4 separate regions of the Homo sapiens genome follow, and all the other regions are linked to region 1. Evidence: promoter capture Hi-C in 16 types of primary human blood cells and fetal thymus (Javierre and others, 2016). All regions are on one chromosome and are shown on one strand. Each heading gives the region's core, a stretch centred on a gene start or on the middle of the fragment in contact. The rest is flanking DNA. Distances are from core to core; before and after follow the strand shown. Region 1 holds the start of BNC2-AS1 (BNC2 antisense RNA 1). Region 2 overlaps LINC03041 (long intergenic non-protein coding RNA 3041). Region 3 has its middle 84 kb from the start of LINC03041. Region 4 overlaps BNC2 (basonuclin zinc finger protein 2).

What was found. The method cuts DNA at HindIII sites, captures the fragments that hold promoters and counts their contacts. A CHiCAGO score of 5 or more calls a contact.
Region 2: a contact is called between a fragment that was not itself captured here and the fragment with the promoter of BNC2-AS1 in region 1, in 1 of 17 cell types (endothelial precursors). The highest score is 6.9, in endothelial precursors.
Region 3: a contact is called between a fragment that was not itself captured here and the fragment with the promoter of BNC2-AS1 in region 1, in 1 of 17 cell types (endothelial precursors). The highest score is 7.0, in endothelial precursors.
Region 4: a contact is called between a fragment that was not itself captured here and the fragment with the promoter of BNC2-AS1 in region 1, in 1 of 17 cell types (endothelial precursors). The highest score is 5.3, in endothelial precursors.

Annotation. Positions count from the first base shown.
Region 1 is chr9:16,725,503-16,728,235 of GRCh38, forward strand. It overlaps BNC2-AS1 (BNC2 antisense RNA 1), which reads left to right and starts at 1,312. Exons shown (of 3, transcript NR_151723.1): 1 at 1,312-1,453; 2 at 1,529-1,604; 3 at 1,813-2,022. BNC2 (basonuclin zinc finger protein 2) reads right to left here. Exons shown (of 7, transcript NM_017637.6): 3 at 2,295-2,495. RefSeq lists an enhancer at 895-1,396. The HindIII fragment of the contact is 1,636 bases long and covers 1,050-2,685 here.
Region 2 is chr9:16,245,072-16,247,804 of GRCh38, forward strand. The region is part of intron 1 of LINC03041 (long intergenic non-protein coding RNA 3041); the gene reads right to left. Among named protein-coding and RNA genes, the nearest start is that of LINC03041, 30 kb to the right of the region's middle. The HindIII fragment of the contact is 5,400 bases long and covers 1-2,733 here.
Region 3 is chr9:16,359,109-16,361,841 of GRCh38, forward strand. No RefSeq gene overlaps it. Among named protein-coding and RNA genes, the nearest start is that of LINC03041, 84 kb to the left of the region's middle. The HindIII fragment of the contact is 1,834 bases long and covers 473-2,306 here.
Region 4 is chr9:16,412,863-16,415,595 of GRCh38, forward strand. It overlaps BNC2 (basonuclin zinc finger protein 2), which reads right to left. Exons shown (of 7, transcript NM_017637.6): 7 at 1-2,733. LOC124902125 (a long non-coding RNA gene) reads left to right here. Exons shown (of 3, transcript XR_007061425.1): 3 at 2,427-2,514. Among named protein-coding and RNA genes, the nearest start is that of LINC03041, 140 kb to the left of the region's middle. The HindIII fragment of the contact is 2,366 bases long and covers 226-2,591 here.

The DNA of each region.
Region 1 (2,733 bases), core at 62-2,561:
AACTACATCAAAACCAAAAAAAAAAGAAAACATATTTAAAACTGTGATTTCTCTCCTTTTGTTGTACTACTCTATTTCATAAATAGCATAATATTATACAGTTTTAATAGCATCCATTAAGCATAAATTAGTTCCCTATATTTCTATTCTCTCCATATAATCACTGATGCTCACCATTACACATATATGCACACACAGGTACACACAAAATATCCACACAGTCAGACAGCTGGATCAAAGACATCATAAATTGTCCTAATTCTGACCCATCATTTATATTACTTTATTTGTTTTTTAGTTAAAATGTTTTCCATGACAAAATCTCCTTAGATTCAAATCTACTTGGAAATGGGCTAGTGCCAAATAAGCAATCTAACACCATCTATGTGGTTCAATAGCCATTTATCAATTGATCATTATCTCTATCTGGTTTTATTAACTCTTTTCTAGCTAGAGGGAGACGTAAGCCAATCTTCCCTTCTAACACACACACACACACGCACACACACACACACGACCTCCACTAACTCAAGGAAAACCCTGAAGGTGACATCTAGTTTTAAAAGTGAAGCACAAGTTATTTGGTACTAAGGTTAGCGAAAACACTGCATTCCAACACGCGAGAGCCACCCAGGCAGGGATGCGTCGCGGAAAACACCTCTCACAGCGCTCTGCAGTGACAAGGAGCATCTCTGTGTGGAAATGAACTTTTCACTTGAAAGAATGGGAAATTGCACATGAAGAGTTACTTATTGGGTTGATGTTGATTGCATTTAAATCCCAGCTTACTGTATCAGCAGTAATCAGGGTCCCTCTACAGGATATGTCAAAATATACCTTATTCAAATGCATTTATCCTATTTAGAATTGTGTGCTAAAACTGTTCTCTAGCTAAATGCTACAAAACCCTGGTTGTAGGTATTATCGCTTGCAAATGTATTTCTAAACTTGTAGTAGTTTATAGCCTGGCAAATTGTTTTTTTTTTATTATCAACAACTTTAAATATCTAACTCAAAGTATTTAATTTTCGTGAACTCTTACAAACAAAAGCTTTTTAAAAAAAAAAAAAAAAAAAGCAGTTGCAGTATTTTTTTCCTCTTGAGTGGCACAACATTTCTTAATAACCGCCGTCAACTTAAAATCCAAGTATATTTGTCAATAGTACTTTCGTGCTGTGTGGATGATAATATCAAACTAACTTGCTTTGTGTGTGGATGATAATATCAAACTAACTTGCTTTGTGTGGGTTTGGTGTAGGCTTTGGAAAAGCAAGACGTGTCTAGGAGGGAGGCACCAGGGAACTTCCCTCCCTCACTTGAGCACAATCCAAGATGAAAGTTTCTGGGTTGTGTCCCCTTCGCTTCCTCTCACCCTCGCTCCCCCGCGGAGCCAAGGAGCCAGCAATTGTGCAAGAGGAGACCGGCGCACAGGGCGCGTATCACGGAGCGCATGGTACGAGCCGCCGGCTCCGGTGATTAATTATCAGTAACCGATGGCCTCGCGCTACCACGTCGGCTTTCCCAGCAGAGCCAGCAAGCCGAACGCCTCCAGCGCGGCCGGGACGGAGGAGCGGCTCTGGGGAAGACGCCGAGGCTGCGCCCGAGTGAGTGCGCCGGCGGGCCGGCGGGCGGGCGGGAGAGCGGGCCGGAGCCGGCGAAGGGAATGCAGGGGCGGGCGCAGAGGGCTGGCTGGCAAGGAGGAGCGGAGCGGAGGAGCGAGGACCGAGCAGCACAGCCCGCCACGCACGCCGACTCCTCCAGCAACCCTCGGCGCTGGCAGCCAAGCCTGCACAGCCTCGTCTCTCTTCTCAGGTCTGAACGAAGCTGCCTCCAGCCACATGAAGTCAGTAGGGCTGTTCTGAGGGGCCCCGAGATTTGATGACTGTTTTTTAGGTTGCGGAACCTACTCCGAGAGAGCAAACACTTTGGACGAAGTGATTCATATTGATAGATACATTTGTTGGGAGGTGGCTTTTTTCATTCTCAACAGAAAACAAAGAAATAAATTAAGTCTTCCCCTGACCCAGATTGTACTGTGAAACTTTTCAACAATGTCTCTGCTTTCTTTTACTTCGGTATCCTTTCCCCTTTTTCTTTTAAGACGCCCTTAGGGAAACCATGAAGTAACCCTGCACATTCCAGTAACACAGTTATGACAAAACAAGAGCCTAACTAGGAAGTGACCACATTTTAAAAAGTATTTAGAAAGAAAAACACCAGAAACAAAAGTGCCCATAACAATTCAAGGTTTCTTAAAAAAAAGAAAAAAAAAATCAAGAAAGAAAGTAACTTACCTGTTGGGACATTCTGAATAAGAGGTTAGTATCAGCGTTTTGCCATGTCCCCATGAACCCTGGTTCAGCCGTAGTCGTTCTGGTTCCGAACTGCATGGAGTTGTCAGTACAGGAGTCTCTTAAAGTCAAGTCTCTTGCCCTCTTTGGCTCTCTGTCTCTCTGTGTCTCTCTTTCTCTCACATCCACTTCTGCCTCTTCTGACTGAAAAGTGAAGGTGGATTTTTTGAGCCTCTTGGCAGCCAGTAGCAGGAGTGTAGTGTAGTTAAGAAGCTGGCTGAACTGTGCATTTCATTTGGGAAGGGGGAGATTTGGGGGAGGGAGGGGGTCAGAGCTTCTTTCGCACCTTCTGCACAGATATCCCTATCATTTATGCATAGATTGTGACTCCCCAAGCTTGCCTTTGCTCAGTTTAACAGCTGCCTGTCAGGTGTGCAGGCGG
Region 2 (2,733 bases), core at 166-2,665, 480 kb before region 1:
GTTTAGGGCAGTAGCCTCTTAACAGCTTAATTCTGAGTCTAATTTTTGTTTTTTAAATCTCTGCTTATTTCTAGGCTTAATTGACCAAAAAGGATTACCACTGCCTCCTAGGCCAATTTCTAGTTTCTTGCTTATGCCATACATTTTGGGTCTGAAGTTCAACAGGAATCAGGCAATCTCCCAGCTTTTTCTAACACTCTCAGAATTCACCTCTTCACTCTTTATGGCCTTCCACTGTCTGAGAGCTTGGAGGTAGCTAGGGGTCACCTTGGAGGGCAAGCATATGGCTTGGAAAGCATTCTCTTTGACTCACTTTACCTCCCACCCAGCTCTATGCATTGTATAGATTTTTTAAGCCAAACACATGAAAGGCATGGACACAAGTCGTCCACGGAAGTTTCACCACCAGTTCAACTCTTGTAATTAATTAGCCAGTAAATTCAGTAACATTTTAAAGAAGAGTAAATTCAATCAAAGAAACAGGGAATTCAGTTCAGTCATAGGTTTAGATTTTGCTCCCCCACTTTTTTTGGTTAGTTGTGGCTGAGCCACCACTGCAATTGAGACAAAACGGTTGGATCTGTCTTACATCAACCTCCTTTAAGCACTTTCAAGTAACTTGCCTTGACCAGAGAGCTAAGAAGTAGGCATTTCACTACCTTTTCAGCAAATGGTGATTTTCTTTGTCAGCCCCATAAAGTGAAAGTTCTAGCTGTTCCTAGGAGAAAAAAAAAAAGCTCAGTTTCACTGTCAAGGCCAAGAACTGGAAGCCAGAACACTTAGAGCTCTTGGTTCTGTTGCATGATTAATTCTCCATGAAGGCATTTAATTTTCTCTCCCTCATCTTCTGCATCTGTAAAATAGGAGTAAGCAATACCCTAGAGTTGCCAGAGATCAATGGGCAGGGACAGGCATTAATGAGGCAGCATATGAAATATTCAGTGAGATTCTTGGATAAGGAGTTACCAATGATTACATGCTTGCTTACCAACTTCCAGATTTAGCAAATCTGTATTGTTAGTACATACTAAAAATTAAAGGACAGCAAGAAATACAAATTTAATTTGTAAAAAGTCTTCAATTACTGGTTTGGAAATGCCCCTTGGAGATACAGGCTTCATTCTGGCTTGCTTTTCAAACTCAGTCACTAACCACAGGGTGTGAGGGTCCCGCTCCTGCAGTCTTCAGGGCCATTGGCTCCACTCTCCACCCCCTGCTTTGTGCTACAGCTTCCAATCTGATTTCACAATAAAAGGTCACACAGCTGCCTTTGGCTGCCAAGTTTCAAATATGCCCTGATGTTAACCCTTTAGAGGCTACAGAGCAGTGGCATTTTTCTCAGTGCTGTTCCAGTATTCACATAAATGGGTCATCTAAGTTCCAAGAATATGCATGCCCTCCACCCTCCACATAGGACTCCATAAAACCATTACATTTGAATGAGAATGTAAGATGCTTCCAAAACTACATTGATGCTATTTCCTAAATTGATTTTTTTGTGAAGAAAGTTGTGTTGTAGTGTTCCACCCTCAGAGTGTCTTAACCAGTGAGCATCTTGTAGACAGTCCTTCCCCGATATTCTGCAACACCTCACCCCATCCCTCCAAAGTCTTTGGGGAATGAAGAAGGCTAGAGCCACCAGCTTCCCTCAGAGAGGAGACCTGGGCTTTAGGCTTCCTGAACCTCATTCTGACTCTCCTTAATGTTCTTCTTTATCCTGCTTCTTGAAAAAGCCAACTTGGAGCATATGTGGACAAGCTCCAGAAAACAGTGTGCTCTCATCAGTGAGCCCATCTAGTGGGGAAGGCAAACAGAGTCATGCACCCGGATCCCCTTGGTGGAACCAGGCCAGCAGTCAGCTTAGAATGTCTAAGGAAGGAGACTCCAGCAGCCAATCTAACCTCACAACCCCACAACTCCTCCCTGCCTTGAATCACTCTTTCCCCGCTGGCCCACAGAGCTTTGATGCAGCCCTTCAGAGACCTGGGTGCATTGCTGACACGACTGTCTAGCCCACTCCCCTCTGAGACCTCGTGGGAAGTGTTATGATTTTCTCTGTGCTCCTCTGTGCCTAGCACCGTGCCTGACACTTTAGAAGCCCTAATTGTCCGTCAGATGAATCAACAAAGATAAAATATCAGTTGACAATTAACCTGCTTCAAAGGATGAACAACTCTATTTCTGGAAACTGTACTGAAGTAATTGGTTCACAGATTAAATTGCTAAAGTGCTTACTGGACAAGTTAGTGAGTGACTTTTTTGGCACACTTCATAATAAGTGACACATCTTTGACTAGTCACCAGGAATGTGAGTTTATCCACCAAGCATTTATTGAGACTCGCGTACGTGCCCAGGAGTGTTCCAGTACCGTGGGGGAGGGTAGCAGGGAAAGGGAAATAGAACAGAATTGTGAGTCCTGGGTCCTGTCCTCCAGCATCTTAATCCTAATGAGGAGGAACAGATTCAGAAAGACTGTGGCAGAACACTTGTGACACTCCAAGCTGGACCCTCAACCCTGGACAAACTTGCTGTGATTTAGACATGGCTCAGCCAGCCAGGTTGGTTCTGGCCACAGTATCTCTGGACCACATCATGTCACAATGCAGTATGGTCACATCATTAAAACATCCAGACATGCCTTCAACCATTATATAGCCAAACCAGTGTCTGTGGGGAGATGAGTGGTTTCAGTGAAATCACAAGTCTGAGAGCAGAAATGGCAAATGAAGAAC
Region 3 (2,733 bases), core at 140-2,639, 370 kb before region 1:
TTTACCTCTAAGAGCTTGATATGGTTTGGCTCTGTGTCCCCACCAAAATCTCATCTTGTAGCTACCATAACTCCCATCTGTTGTGGGAGGGAGATAATCGAATCATGGGGGCAAGTCTTTCCTGTGCTGGTCTCATGATAGTGTATATGTCTCCTGAGATTTGATGGTTTTAAAAATAGGAGTTTCCCTGCACACACTCTCTCTCTCTCTCTCTCTCTCTCTCTCTCTCTCTCTCTCTCTCTCATCTGCCAGCACGTGAGACGTGCCTTTCAGCTTCCACCATGATTTGAGGCCTCCCTAGCCATGTGAAACTATAAGTGCATTAAACCTCTTTCTTTTGTAAATTGCCCAGTCTCGCATGTCTTTATCATCAGTGTGAAAACAGACTAATACAGAGCTGTTGTGAAGATAAAATGAGATGATGTCAATATAAATGAATATATTGCTGTGACAGACATTATTCTCAACCATAAGCTTTCAGCCCACTCACCTTGCACCCCAACTCCTCCAGCAGTGCTATCTTGGCTGAGCTCAGAGCATTATCAGTCACTTTTTAGACATTAGAAAAGTTTGATTCTCAGAAATCAATAAAGTTCAGATTCTCCTAACACTAAAACTTCAATTTCTCATCCAATTCAAAGGCTCTCTCTTTCCCCAGCTCAGGCCTACACCAGGCTCAGTAACCTGCAGTTGGGAAGCGGGGGGCTTTTCCTTACTCTCAGTCCCTCCTCCACTTCCTCTGGCCTCTCCAGGACTGCAGCAGAAGGAAGGAGGAAAGGTAAAGGGTGGTCTTAGACAGTTCAGACTGCTATAACAAAACACCATAAACTGGTGTCTTATAAACAACAGAGAATTTATTTCTCACAGTCCTGGAGGCGGGGAAGTCCAAGATCAAGTCACTGGCAGATTTGGTGTGTGGTAAGGGCCTCTTCCTGGTTCACAGAGAGCTATATTCTCACCGTAACCTCACATGGCAGAAGTGGTAAGGGAGCTCCCAAGGCCTCTTTAAAAAGCGCACTAATCTCATTTATAAAGGTTCTGCCCTCATGACTTAATTATCCCTCAAAGGCCCCATCTCCTAATACCATAGCACTAGGCATTAGGTTTCAACATATGAATTTAGGGGACACAAATATTTAGTTTATAGCAAGGACTAAAATGGTCAATTGACTTAGCTGCACTGTGAAGATCTGCATGAGGCCCTGTGTGTGGCAGATGGCCAAACCCTGACTGTCACCCACAGGCACTTCAGTGCCTTCCTCTACCTCCATGGAAGCACCTCCTCCCCAATCCCACCTCTACCCATGTGGCTGAGATTGCCCTTGGAAAGGCCGTCCTCTTGGGCATAGCCCTATCACGAGGCCTCTACTCTTAAGACTGCCCATCCATAGCGTCCACTTAGCTAGTGGGAAACTCAGCATCCTCACCCCTCCAATCCTGACAGTGTGTGACATGCCCACCTCAGCCTTTCTCCTCATTCTGCTAACCTTCTCCTTTGGACTTTTGCAGTTTCAGTACCTCCATGTGCCAGAGGATGCGGATTAATTTTGCCCAGAATTCTCTCACCATGTCTACTCCCACAGCAGCTATGGAAGTGTCTAGGTGTTTCTTCAGTTCCACGATCATTCAGCTAGAGGGTGAGGTGGAGTGATGAGTGAAATATCAGTCCCCTTCGGGCTAATCACCCCAAACTTGAGTTTTTCTGCTAGGAAATGTATCTCCCTCCACCAGGTAGCCCATTGTTTTCAAAGAGATGTTTACTCACTCTGACAGTACTGAGGATGACAGTGCTGACACTTATAGGCCCTCACTATGAGCTAAATACTGCTCTAAGAATTCTAGATGTAGAACTGCCTGGTCCATATATAATAACGCATTTAATCCTCACAGCATCCCTATGAGGTAGATGCTATAGTCACCCCACTTCATAGGTAAGTAAATGAAAGTACAGAGCTAAGTAATTTAGCCAAGATCTTGCAGCTAGTAGTAGCAGAGAGGAAACTTGAACTCAGACTCTCTGGGCTTTAGCTTTTGGACCCTAATCACAAATTCCTATTTCCTCTCCGTCTTTCTCTTAAGTAGAAGTGAAGAATGGACTAAAGCATCTGAAAATATGTTAGTCATTTTTTGGCATGTGCTGCAAATGTGTCTAGTACCCATCTTCAGAATGCAGGAGTATTTGTCGCTCTGTTCTCAGCTTTCAGTCAACCAAAATTCCATAGACAATAGTCAAAGTTCCATTTAATATACTGTTACATATATAAATCTCTTAGAACTTTGTCAACCATTCATCAACAATAAATGGAAGCTTCAAAGCTAGGGAGCTCATGGCCTGAAAGGGAGAAAAATAGCCAGGAAATAGAGCATCATAATACAGTATAGACGCTGTAGTATATAATTTTGTGTTATGAATTCCACAAATATTTATTAGAAACCTATTATGGGCTGTTAGGGGCTGAGGATATAATGATCAAATTGGATGAGGTTCCCATCCTGTGGAAAGTCCCTGCAATTGAAAGGAAAAATATTCTCTAGAAAGAAGGAATTTCGGTTATCTATTACTACATAAACTAACTCAAATTTAGAGGCTTAAGATGACAACCACCATTTATTGGCTCATAATTCTACAACTTGGACAAGGCTCAGAGGGGCCCTCCTAGGGTCTCTTAGGTGGCTGCAATCCCCTGAGAACTCAGCCAAGGAATATCCATGAAGGCATCACTGACATGTGTG
Region 4 (2,733 bases), core at 159-2,658, 310 kb before region 1:
TTACGCATCCTTTTATATTTGATGGCCAAGTGCTGAACTGGAAAGCACACTATTAGTTTGTGTCCCTTCAGGGCCAGGGCAATAAGTAGCCAGGAGAGCTGGGCTGAAGCAGAGAGGGTGTTGTCTGCTGTTAGTGTGACAGTCTTGTCAGCAGCGTTCACATTACTGGAAGGTAATAAAGTGACAAGTATGTTATTAGAAAGATACGAGGTGAAATTGAACTGAAGCTTCTTGCTGCTCAGCCCTGGCTTTTTTCTTTCCTCTTTTGTAATGGTCCACTATTTGTTACAGACTGAGCCTTGGTCTTCATATCCTATATAAAAAAGATTTTTTTTTTTCCTGCAGTAAAGGTCAAATGAATTTACAACAGCACTTTAGAGGAGAAGAATAAAGATAGTTTTATGACAACTATAGTATGTTGCTCCAAAAATATATATAGCATTATAATGAACAATAATGCTGATCCAATTCAGTGTACATGTAAAAATGCTTAGTTTTTTTTTTTTTTTTAACCTCCTGTTATTTGGATTTGGATTAAAATCATTTGGATTAAAAAAGATTTGGATTAATCTTTTGGATTAAAAGCATTTGGATTTTTCAACAAATGCCAAAAAGACAGTATGCCGAATAACATAGTTATTGCCGAATGAGCACAGAAAATCATTTTGCGCAAGATGTGGGAAGGATGAGGATGATGAAACTACACAAGGAAGGACGGGTATGTGGGCAACAGTGATGACAGATAACTCACTGGTCAGTTGTACAGCTGGAATTACACAATACTTTTTGAAAATGACCATTTATGGTGAGCAACACTCCAGCTACAGGAAATATGCGACTCGTCTGGGACAGATCAAACATGACCTTAGTACTAACGCAAACAAGACTACCACGTGTGGTTTATCTCTGAGGGAAAATGTGAAGAGAAGTTACTTACATACCTCATAGAACAGTAAATGAGCTCCCATTTTGATCAAGGTCTTTAGCCTAGTATTAATTACAATCATGGCTTTGTTGTGTTGCTACAGTGGCAAGCATGAGTAATGATCAAGAAAGGAACGATCCATGCTGGTGCCATTCGCACCTACTCCTCTGTTAGGATGAAAACGAGGTGTTACCACTGGCCTTTTCTATAGCCTTGCTGACCCCTGGCATCTTTCGGTTCTCAGGGGATTCCAGCAACACTTCCCACTCAAAAACAAAGCAAAAGCAACCAAAACCCCACAATTGTCGGCTCTTCCTGACCCCAAAGGAACTTCAGCTATTTCATGCAGCTGTACTTGCTTTCCTAACCCCTTCCTCAGAGCCGACTCACCTGGTCATAGGAACTCTGCAGGTCCCTACGATCAATACGCTCTCACCCACTGCGAGGCAGAGCTATGCCAGTCTTTTCTCTCGAGCCAACATTTCCAGTGCATTCATGATTTCCTTTTCTAGCTACCCCAAAACCAGGGCAGGAACCGACCCTCTACTTAGTTCTGATGAAAACACTGTGATCCCTCCAGTCTTTCTGGTATCTTTTATTGCTCATCTTACTCATTTAGATCCATCCCCAAAAAATAAACAATGAGAGGGAAAAGCAAAACCACCTAATTTAAATACTTCAAGTTTGGGAGAAGATAAGTGATTTTAAAGAATGAAATTCGTTTGTCATAATTTTAAAAAAGAAGCTCTTAAGAAAAGGGTGTGACCACAGGATGAAAAAAAGTTTCTTCTGGATGATTTGTTTCTTGATGATAGCAGATGTAGCGTGTCTTATGACAGGTGAATTTTATTTACTCTGTTAGTCAATCTAACCCAATGCTAACAGACCAGATACAAGTTAGGACTGCTCAGGTCAAGCTGTCAGCAGTTAGCAGCATGTCCATCTCAATCTGGTGACTAGCTTCTTTATGCTTTAATTGTCAACGGCCCTCATTCTCATTTGCTTGGCACATATCTGGGGTGTGTACAGAGAAAGGGGAAAAAAAGGTCACATTGTATTTGGTGGGAACCTAGTGCATAGTTTCTCCTGAGGAGAAGCCTCTGGAATAGCCCATTCTTGATATATTCAAAGTTTTTTTTTTTTTTTTTTCCTTAGAGCAATGTATAATAATGGGGCTGTTAACCAGTTAAGTGCCTTTCTCCTCTTACTGGAAGGGCCTGAAAATTCATGACCAAAGAAATAACACTATGAGGACAGTGGCACCATTGTGCCAAAAAGGTTTTAAAAAATGTTTGCCATGTTGAAAAGGAAAACATTAACACCTTTAAACCTTTAAAAGGCATCAGGCTGAACAGGGCAGCTGGACTAAGATCTGGAATGAGTTACATTGGGTTGACTTATTTAAATACAATTAATATCAGAACAAAGAATGCCAAGGATTTTTATCACACTTTTAAACCAAATTCCTCATTATCTATCCTTTTTTTCTCTCTTTCCATAGCATGCAGATATTCCCGAAAGCGGACTAAACCTGATATTTACAAAAACATAGTTTTAAATGATCAAGACAGTACAAGTTTCAACATCAGCTAGAGAACATGCACAGTCATACCGCCTAATTTTGTACCTGTGATAAACTCTGGCTAAAACCAATCACATGGGGAAAAGCTTGTCGGATGAACATCTACATCACTATTAATTTTCAGCCAGCATAGAATGCATGTGGCTTGAGAGAAACTGTTTAACAACAAAAAACTCCTATGAAAAAGCAAATGAGTAGGAATGGGCAAAGATGAGCTCCATGACTA